Linked DNA regions of Homo sapiens: region 2 is linked to region 1. The links are contacts of gene promoters, found by promoter capture Hi-C in human tissues and cell types (Jung and others, 2019). All regions are on one chromosome and are shown on one strand. Each heading gives the region's core, a stretch centred on a gene start or on the middle of the fragment in contact. The rest is flanking DNA. Distances are from core to core; before and after follow the strand shown. Region 1 holds the start of PPP2R5D (protein phosphatase 2 regulatory subunit B'delta). Region 2 overlaps CCND3 (cyclin D3).

Region 1 (3,632 bases), core at 1,117-3,616:
AAATGCAACTGAAAATCAAGAGCAGAAAAACCTTATAGGGAGGTGAGAGTTATGCCTGGCTCCATGCACCCCGTTACTTCCAACACCCTTTCCCAACCAAACGTTTACACCCATGGTCCTAGCAAATCTCACTGGCAATTTGTCTTCTTCACAATCTAGTAGGCTATTGCTTTCTGTGGATGGGACAGTATCTAGTCCAACAGACTAAAAATTACAAATGGGTGGGGACCTCACCAGCTTTCCCCGAATTCCATTTCCCTTAGCCCCTGTTGTGGCTGATTTCTGTGTGCATTGTCTACGACTGAGCTACCCAAACCACCTCCGCATGCCCACTCCCCAAGGACAGGGCCTGGGTGGGGCACAAAACCCTGTCCAGCTCACTACTCCCAGGAGGCTCACTATCTAGTACACCATCACCAACCCTGTACTTAGAACCTCAGGCCCTGAAAGGTTAAGGGGACAACTCAGAATCAGAGCTGCCTGGCAAATACAGAACAGCCCCAGGAGAAAAAGTTTGATTGAAAAGGTCAGAGATGGCAGCCCAGTAACCCAGCCAATCAGAGGGCAAATGAAAGCAATATACCTCTGGGGTCATCGAGCAGGTGGCCAGAACACCAGGCCAGAGCCAACCCCCACCAAAAAGGGCCAGCCCCAGGAGAGGAGAAGCTGGGGGAGGCTGGAACTGGTATCCTAGCATCCTATGTGTGAGTCTGTACCTCAAAGGAACCACACCTCTGAGTCAGACCTCAGCAACAGCAGGAAACAGAGGGTAGAAAAAGGCACGGATGAGGAGCAGGGGAAGGCAGCACCGAGGTAGATGAGGAAGGTGAAAGAAGGCAACATTAAGAACTGGCCTGTGGGCCAGGCACGGTGGCTCACACCTGTAATCCCAGCACTTTGGGAGGCCGAGGGGGTCAGATCACCTGAGGTCAGGAGTTCAAGACCAGCCTGATCAACATGGAGAAACCCCGTCTCTACTAAAAATACAAAATTAGCCGGATGTGGTGGCGCATGCCTGTAATTCCAGCTACTTGGGAGGCTGAGGCAGGAGAATCGCTTGAAGCTAGAAGGCAGAGGTTGTGGTGAGCCGAGATCGCGCCATTGCACTCCAGCCTGGGCAACAAGAGCAAAATTCCATCTCAAAAAAAAAAAAAAAAAAAGAAATGGCCTGTGTCAGGACATCATGATAAAGACATGGGTGTTCAGGGGTGGCTGGCCTGCAGGCTAAGAAGGAACAATAATCTGACAGTGAGGACAAATTCCCAATTTGAAGATGGTGTAGCTTAGGAAAGGCAGAAATCCAGCACTGGTGCGAAAAGAAAAAAAAAAAGGAAAAATGCAAAGGTTATCCTAGGATTAAGAATAAGGGTGAGGAGCCTACTCAGATTAGGAAAGGTGACTGGTCTAGGATGCACTTGGGTGACAGTTAGGAGGGCTTTGATACAAAAGAGGCCTTTAAGTCAGGAGACCTGATATTGCAGCTGGGCCTCCAGCAGGCTGTGTGACCTTGGACAAGTCCCTTGCCCTGTCGGGGCCTCAGTCTCCTCATCTGTACCATTAGGGATTGCACTGCATGCGCTCAGAGGTCCCTTCCAGCACCAACGTTGTGAGGTTCCATCAACAGAAGGGCTCAGTCCTGCTTACAAGTTTGTGTGTGAAGGAAGAACTAGAGGGAGGGGCCTAGGCCAGATTTGGGTGGAGGAGAGAGAAAGCAGCGCTGTTCTAGGTCAGGGGCTTGGCATGGAAAGAGAAGGGGCCGTAGGGGACTGCGGGGCGGCTGTCCCAGGCGGGTAGGAAGAGGAGACAAGGGGCTGCTCAGGGCGGGGCGAGGGGGCAATTCTGGAGGAAGGTGCAGTTTCAGATGAGGGGCTGCCCAAACCGAAGGGGGATCGGGGCCAGGGGTGATGGGGGGGACAGAAAAAGCAGGACAGTGACCTGGGAATGGGGCAGATCTGGAAGAAGGAGGTTACCCTGGGCCGGGGGTAAGAGAAGGGAAGAAGGGAGGGAGGTGTATGTGGGGGGAGTCTCTCCGGGGCAAGGTGGGGGAGCTGTCCTAGCTGCGGCACAAGCTGGGGGTGCTGCCAGCCGCGGGGGCGGAGGGCTGGCCCCAGGAGTCCTGCGGGGGCTGGACGGGAGGGTCAGTCTGGGGCTGTCCCGGGCCTGGCTCCGGCCCCTCCCAGAGCTCCGCGCAGGCTCCAAGGCGGCGGTGGGGGAAAAAGGGCCACGCTCACCTTCTCCTTTTTCAGTTTATAGGGCATCTCGGCCCGTCCGGACCCGGCCCGTCTCCTGCGGCCCCGCTCCGGCTCCGGCTTTGCTCGGCCGCACTCGGCCCGCTCGGCGTCTCTTCGCCACCGCCTGCGCGCTGCGCCCGGGTCGAGCGGTGCCTGCGCCTCCAATTGGCCCGAACTCCTACAAAACTGCCTGACAACCAGGCGCCGCCTCCTCGGATTGGTCATTGGAGCCAAGCTGCTTCCTTTTTTTCTTATTGGAAAGAAATAGTACAAACCGCCAGGGTTCGGCTTCCAGAATTGGCTGAAGTGGGTGGTCCCGCCCTAAAGTGGGTCGAGCTTAGAGAAGGAGGCGGGGATAAGGGGAAACCCAAGCTTGGCTAGGAGGGCTGCACTCCAGCGTCTGCTGTGCGTCGGCCTCGGCCATTCTTCGCGGCGCTTGGAGCCCTGCTCTTTCCTTCTAAAGGCTCTCACACTTTGCCCGCTCTGCTACCCTGTCCAGTCGGAATTGGAGGAAGGAAGCCCTAATACGGAGGGCACCTTTCTTCACTGGGGTAAAGTAGCCCTAATTGCAGATGCAAAATTGATGGAGGGAGCTCCCAAGGACCTTCCAAGACACCCGCCTCCCTAGACAGGGGTTGCAGAGGAGCAAAGGGGAAGCCTGGCAGGGCTAGGACCTGGGCGAAATGAGTGGAGAATCCCTGGCTTGGTGCAACTTTAGGAAGAGGGTCCCCGTTGCTACTGCAAGTGTACTGGGATTGGGGAACCAGCTAGATTTGAGCAGTTGGGAACGCAGTGGAAAAGCAACTTCATTGTTGACTGTCTCAGGAAATCCATCCCTTACTTGCCACCCTGCTCAAGTCCGTGTTCTAATGGGTAAGACTCAGTTTATGCCCACAAAGAGTTCGCAGTCTGGTGAATCACAGATGTGTATAAACAAAGGATTAAGAGAGAATGTAAACCAGGCAGGCACGGTGTCTCACGCCTGTAATCCCAACACTTTGGGAGGCTGAGGCAGGAGGATCACCTGAGGTCAGAGGTTCGAGACCAGCCTGGCCAACATGGCGAAACCCCGTCTCTATTAAAAATACAAAAATTAGCTGGGTGTGGTGGTGCACGCCTGTAATCCCAGCTACTCGGGAGGCTGAGGCAGGAGAATCACTTGAACCCGGGAGACGGAGGTTGCAGTGAGCCGAGATCACACCACTGCACTCCAGCCTGGGCGACAGAGCAAGACTCTGTCTCAAAACAGCAACAATGACGACAAAAAGAATAAACCTGTGGCCAGGCTCGGTGGCTCACGCCTGTAGTCCCAACACTTTGGGAGACCAAAGTGGGCAGATCACGAGGTCAGGAGTTTGAGACCAGCCTGACCATAGTGGTGAAACCCCATTTCTACTAAAA
Region 2 (3,673 bases), core at 426-2,925, 1.0 Mb after region 1:
CCTGGGCTCGGCCGCCCCCGCCCGGGAGCCGGTTCCTGTGTCTTTCGCGGGGTTCTGGCGGGGAAGGCGATGGGGGTGGCGCGCGCCCTGTTCCGGCCGACAGGGAAATGAAAAGTGCAGGAGGCAGCGGCAGGAGCCTCCTCCCTTCCCCTCGGGTGTGTGCAGTGGTGGCGGTGATGGGGGTGAGGTCCCAGCTCTCTGGCTACCATGGGTGACCCTTGCGTCCCACTTCCCCTCGCTGTGGGGGAGGGGAGTCTCCGTTTGGAATCCTCCGTGAGCAAGGGCTCCTTGGCTTTACCACTCCCCCGTCAAGGGGAGAGGGGAGGAGGCCGCGCAGAGGAAGTGGGGGGCGTCACCTTGGGGAGGGCGCATCCTCCTCCTTTATTGGTCCTTGTCTCTCTAAGTAGCTTACCCTCTCTGCCGTTTTTGCTCCCTATCCCACCTCACTTCAGCGCTCCCACCCCCCCGCTGCTGTGTTCCCCACGCTCCAGACCCAGCAGTGACTGTGCGCCCTCCCCCAGGTATGTGAGGAGCAGCGCTGTGAGGAGGAAGTCTTCCCCCTGGCCATGAACTACCTGGATCGCTACCTGTCTTGCGTCCCCACCCGAAAGGCGCAGTTGCAGCTCCTGGGTGCGGTCTGCATGCTGCTGGCCTCCAAGCTGCGCGAGACCACGCCCCTGACCATCGAAAAACTGTGCATCTACACCGACCACGCTGTCTCTCCCCGCCAGTTGCGGGTGCGTGTGTAACTCCCCCCACCCCCGACACGTATTGTCTCCCCACTTTCCAGGAAAAGGAAAGCTTGAGATATCAGAGGCTTTCTGCCCCCTGGAGAGGAAGCAAGGGGATCAGGACCTTTGGGAAAGGAATTGGGGTGGAACAAACGATGGGGCATTGTGGTGTGATGGTTAGTATCACTCCCGCCCAGGCTTGAGCTGCAGGCAGGCATTAAACCCCCTCCTCCTGACCTCCAGGGGATGCCACTCCTTCCTGGTCTTTCCCCCAGATAGCAACAAGTCAAATTGCATGTCTACACTCACTAGTACTTTGCCTCTGGGTTTACGCAGCCACCATGAGTTATTTATTGGCAGCAGAAGGGCATGCCTGCACACCCCCACTGGAGTAGGGGAGTGGAATGTGCTTCATGTGGGGGAGGGGGTTTTGCCTTGGTTGAGTCTTTATCCTCATGTGGACTTTGTGATAGAAAAGCCTCCCAGAGCCAATTAAAGCCAGGCCCTGATTGCTTTAAGGAAGGGCTGATGTATTTCATCCCACCTTCTTTGCTTCCTCTTATATCCCGGAAGAAACAGCTTCTTCCTAATCCTTCCTCGTCCTCATTCTGAGGAACTGGAGCAGCTGCTTTGGGCCTGGTGGAAACAGCTCCCTCTTCCCCCCTTAGCCCAAGGCCCAAGCTGAGGGACAGACAGGGAGGTGAGCTGCATCTGCTTCCGATGTGATAATGGTGCCCCCTCCCCTGGCCCGCCCTCTCTGACCAAGGTCTTTCATAACCCTGTGGGGAGCTGCTGTCACTCCTGTGGTTTGGGAAGTGGCTCCCTGGGCCTCTTGCTGGAAACTTGGGCTGGGCTCAGGCCGGGCAGGAAAGTCACCGGTTCTGTCCCGCCTCAGAAGGAGCCTGGGGAGGAGGCGGGGGAGCTGCTGGATCTGGAAGAGGTTATTTAGGACATGCAGATTGTCTCCTAGGGAGGCTGGGGGAGAGGGTGGGTGAGCTGGCACCTTCCTCCACCTTGCTCTGTGGCGGGCCAAGTCTTCTGCTGACCCTGAGAGGAGTCTCTGGGCCCCATCTCCCAGGGAGGAGGGCAGCAAGCAGGCTGCTGTGATTGGCTGGCAGGGAAGCCAGGGTACTGGGGCCCCCGACTGCTGTGAGTCGAGGAACAGGATTCCTCTTCCTGCCAAGTAGCTCAGAGATGGGAGTAGGAGGCCAGAGTTGGGAATCCAGGAGGCGCCACAGCTCTTTGTGATGAATCTGGTAGTTTTTGGCAAGTCTGAAGGTGGAGCTAGTTTCCAGGGCCAGAGAGCAAGATGTTTTTGGAGGGGTTGGGGCTGGAAGGTAGAAGGGGAACTTCCTTTTTGTGAAAAGATGGAGGTGGTTTGTGTGCCCACGTATGAGGGTTTTTCAGTACAGGCAAAAAGTACTCTTCCCTCTGCCTGAGCTGGGGGTGGAGTGCCCAAAAGACTTCCTAGAAGGTCAAGGTTGGAAGGGACCTCTGAGAACTCCAGTTGGTCCAAATCCGTGTGCAGCAGAGGAGGCTGAGGCCCAAGGAAGGAGGGCAAGGTCCTGCCTCAGCATCGCACTGAGCAGATGAGTGTAGAACCTGGGTCTTCTAGCTAGACCAGGTTGCCTTAAAAGTCAGGAATGTGATGGCCGCTGCCACCTACTGAAGCTAAGCACTCCCAGGGGTGTGTTCTCCACCAGTTAACACTGGGATTCTCTGGTTGCCTGGATATGGGGAAAGGTGGCCACTTTCCCTCAAACACAACCCCTTGCCTCCCCATAGGGAGAGTCCCACTCCCAGTTGCCTTCCAGATGCTTCCTTAGAAGCTGAGTCCCTTCTGTTTACTGCTGAGTTAGGAGTTGGCTCCTGGGACATGCACTAGGGGTAGCGTTGTAATTTATCTGTCTCACTTCTGGCTCCAGGCCAGGCTATTTTCTCTGGGGCTCTGTGAGGGTAGGGGTTGATTTGAGAGGCTGACACCTAAGCTGGGGCCAAGAGAGAGACAGCTGTGGCTGGGGCCTGGAAGAGGTTGGGTGGGGTTGCCATTTCTGCCTCAATAAGGAGTCAAACCCACAAGTTCCTTCCTGAGATAAAACAATGAAGAAATCCTCATGTGTGCAACTCAGAAATGGGGCCAGGTCTGGGAACCCATGACGAGTGGACTGGGGTGGAGCTCCCAGCCTTCTCCCGAGACCTAGTACTGGCAGGTAGGCTTGGGTAGGTGAGGATAGGGCTTGATCCCTCTGGAATCATTTGGAGCCATCCTGTCTGGCTTGGCCTCTACCTATCCTCCTGAAAGTCAAGTGGCATGGGGCACTACGGGTTCCAGCTAAAGGGGGTGGGGTGGGGTGCTATACCTCAGGACCCATCCCTGATATCCTACCAAGGGGATGTGGCTTGGGTTGGGCAATCTCCCCTTTGAGGAACCTGAGAAAAGGCTCTGTGGCTGTCATTGGAGGAGTCATACTCCCTTCTGTTGATTCAAGAAGTGTGGACTTGGCTGGGATGCAGAGTTGCAGGGGAAGCTAGTGGTGATCTCCCCTTTCACAAATCCTTGGGGTTGAGAGAGTCTTTCTGCTTCATCCCAGAAGAGAGCCCAGTTCATGGTGATGCTGTGGTATCTGCTGCTTCCGTCTTTCAGCCCTGGCTGGAGAAATCCTCAGAGCCCTGAATGAAGTCAGGAGAAGGCCTGGATTATTGGCCCCTTAAACATAACCAGACAGGATTAAAAGGGATAATCCATGTAAAGCATGTTGTCCTGGCACCTAGTAAATGATCAGTAAGTGCTCAAAGCACATGCCTCCTCCTCTTCCCTGCCTTGAACTCCATGGTGCCCGGCCTTAAAATCAGAAACAGAACTGGGGTCTTGGGCTTTAAAAGTTTGATGGGCTTCCCTGCCTGAGACTTTGAGACTTCTGCTTTGCTCCCTCCTCTTCACT

Evidence for each region. The method cuts DNA at HindIII sites, captures the fragments that hold promoters and counts their contacts. A contact is called where the count stands out against the background at its distance.
Region 2: a contact is called between a fragment that was not itself captured here and the fragment with the promoter of PPP2R5D in region 1, in 1 of the 25 tissues and cell types used here (hippocampus).

The regions. Positions count from the first base shown.
Region 1 is chr6:42,983,304-42,986,935 of GRCh38, reverse strand. It overlaps PPP2R5D (protein phosphatase 2 regulatory subunit B'delta), which reads right to left and starts at 2,366. Exons shown (of 16, transcript NM_006245.4): 1 at 2,232-2,366. The coding sequence starts at 2,258. It overlaps LOC124900215 (a long non-coding RNA gene), which reads left to right and starts at 2,622. Exons shown (of 2, transcript XR_007059580.1): 1 at 2,622-3,104. RefSeq lists silencers at 2,008-2,157, 2,248-2,317 and an enhancer at 2,468-2,587. The HindIII fragment of the contact is 19,136 bases long and covers 1-3,632 here.
Region 2 is chr6:41,937,434-41,941,106 of GRCh38, reverse strand. It overlaps CCND3 (cyclin D3), which reads left to right. Exons shown (of 5, transcript NM_001760.5): 2 at 522-737. Among named protein-coding and RNA genes, the nearest start is that of CCND3, 2.5 kb to the left of the region's middle. RefSeq lists enhancers at 1-68, 111-240, 1,322-1,616, 1,197-2,012, 2,013-2,828. The HindIII fragment of the contact is 4,830 bases long and covers 1-3,673 here.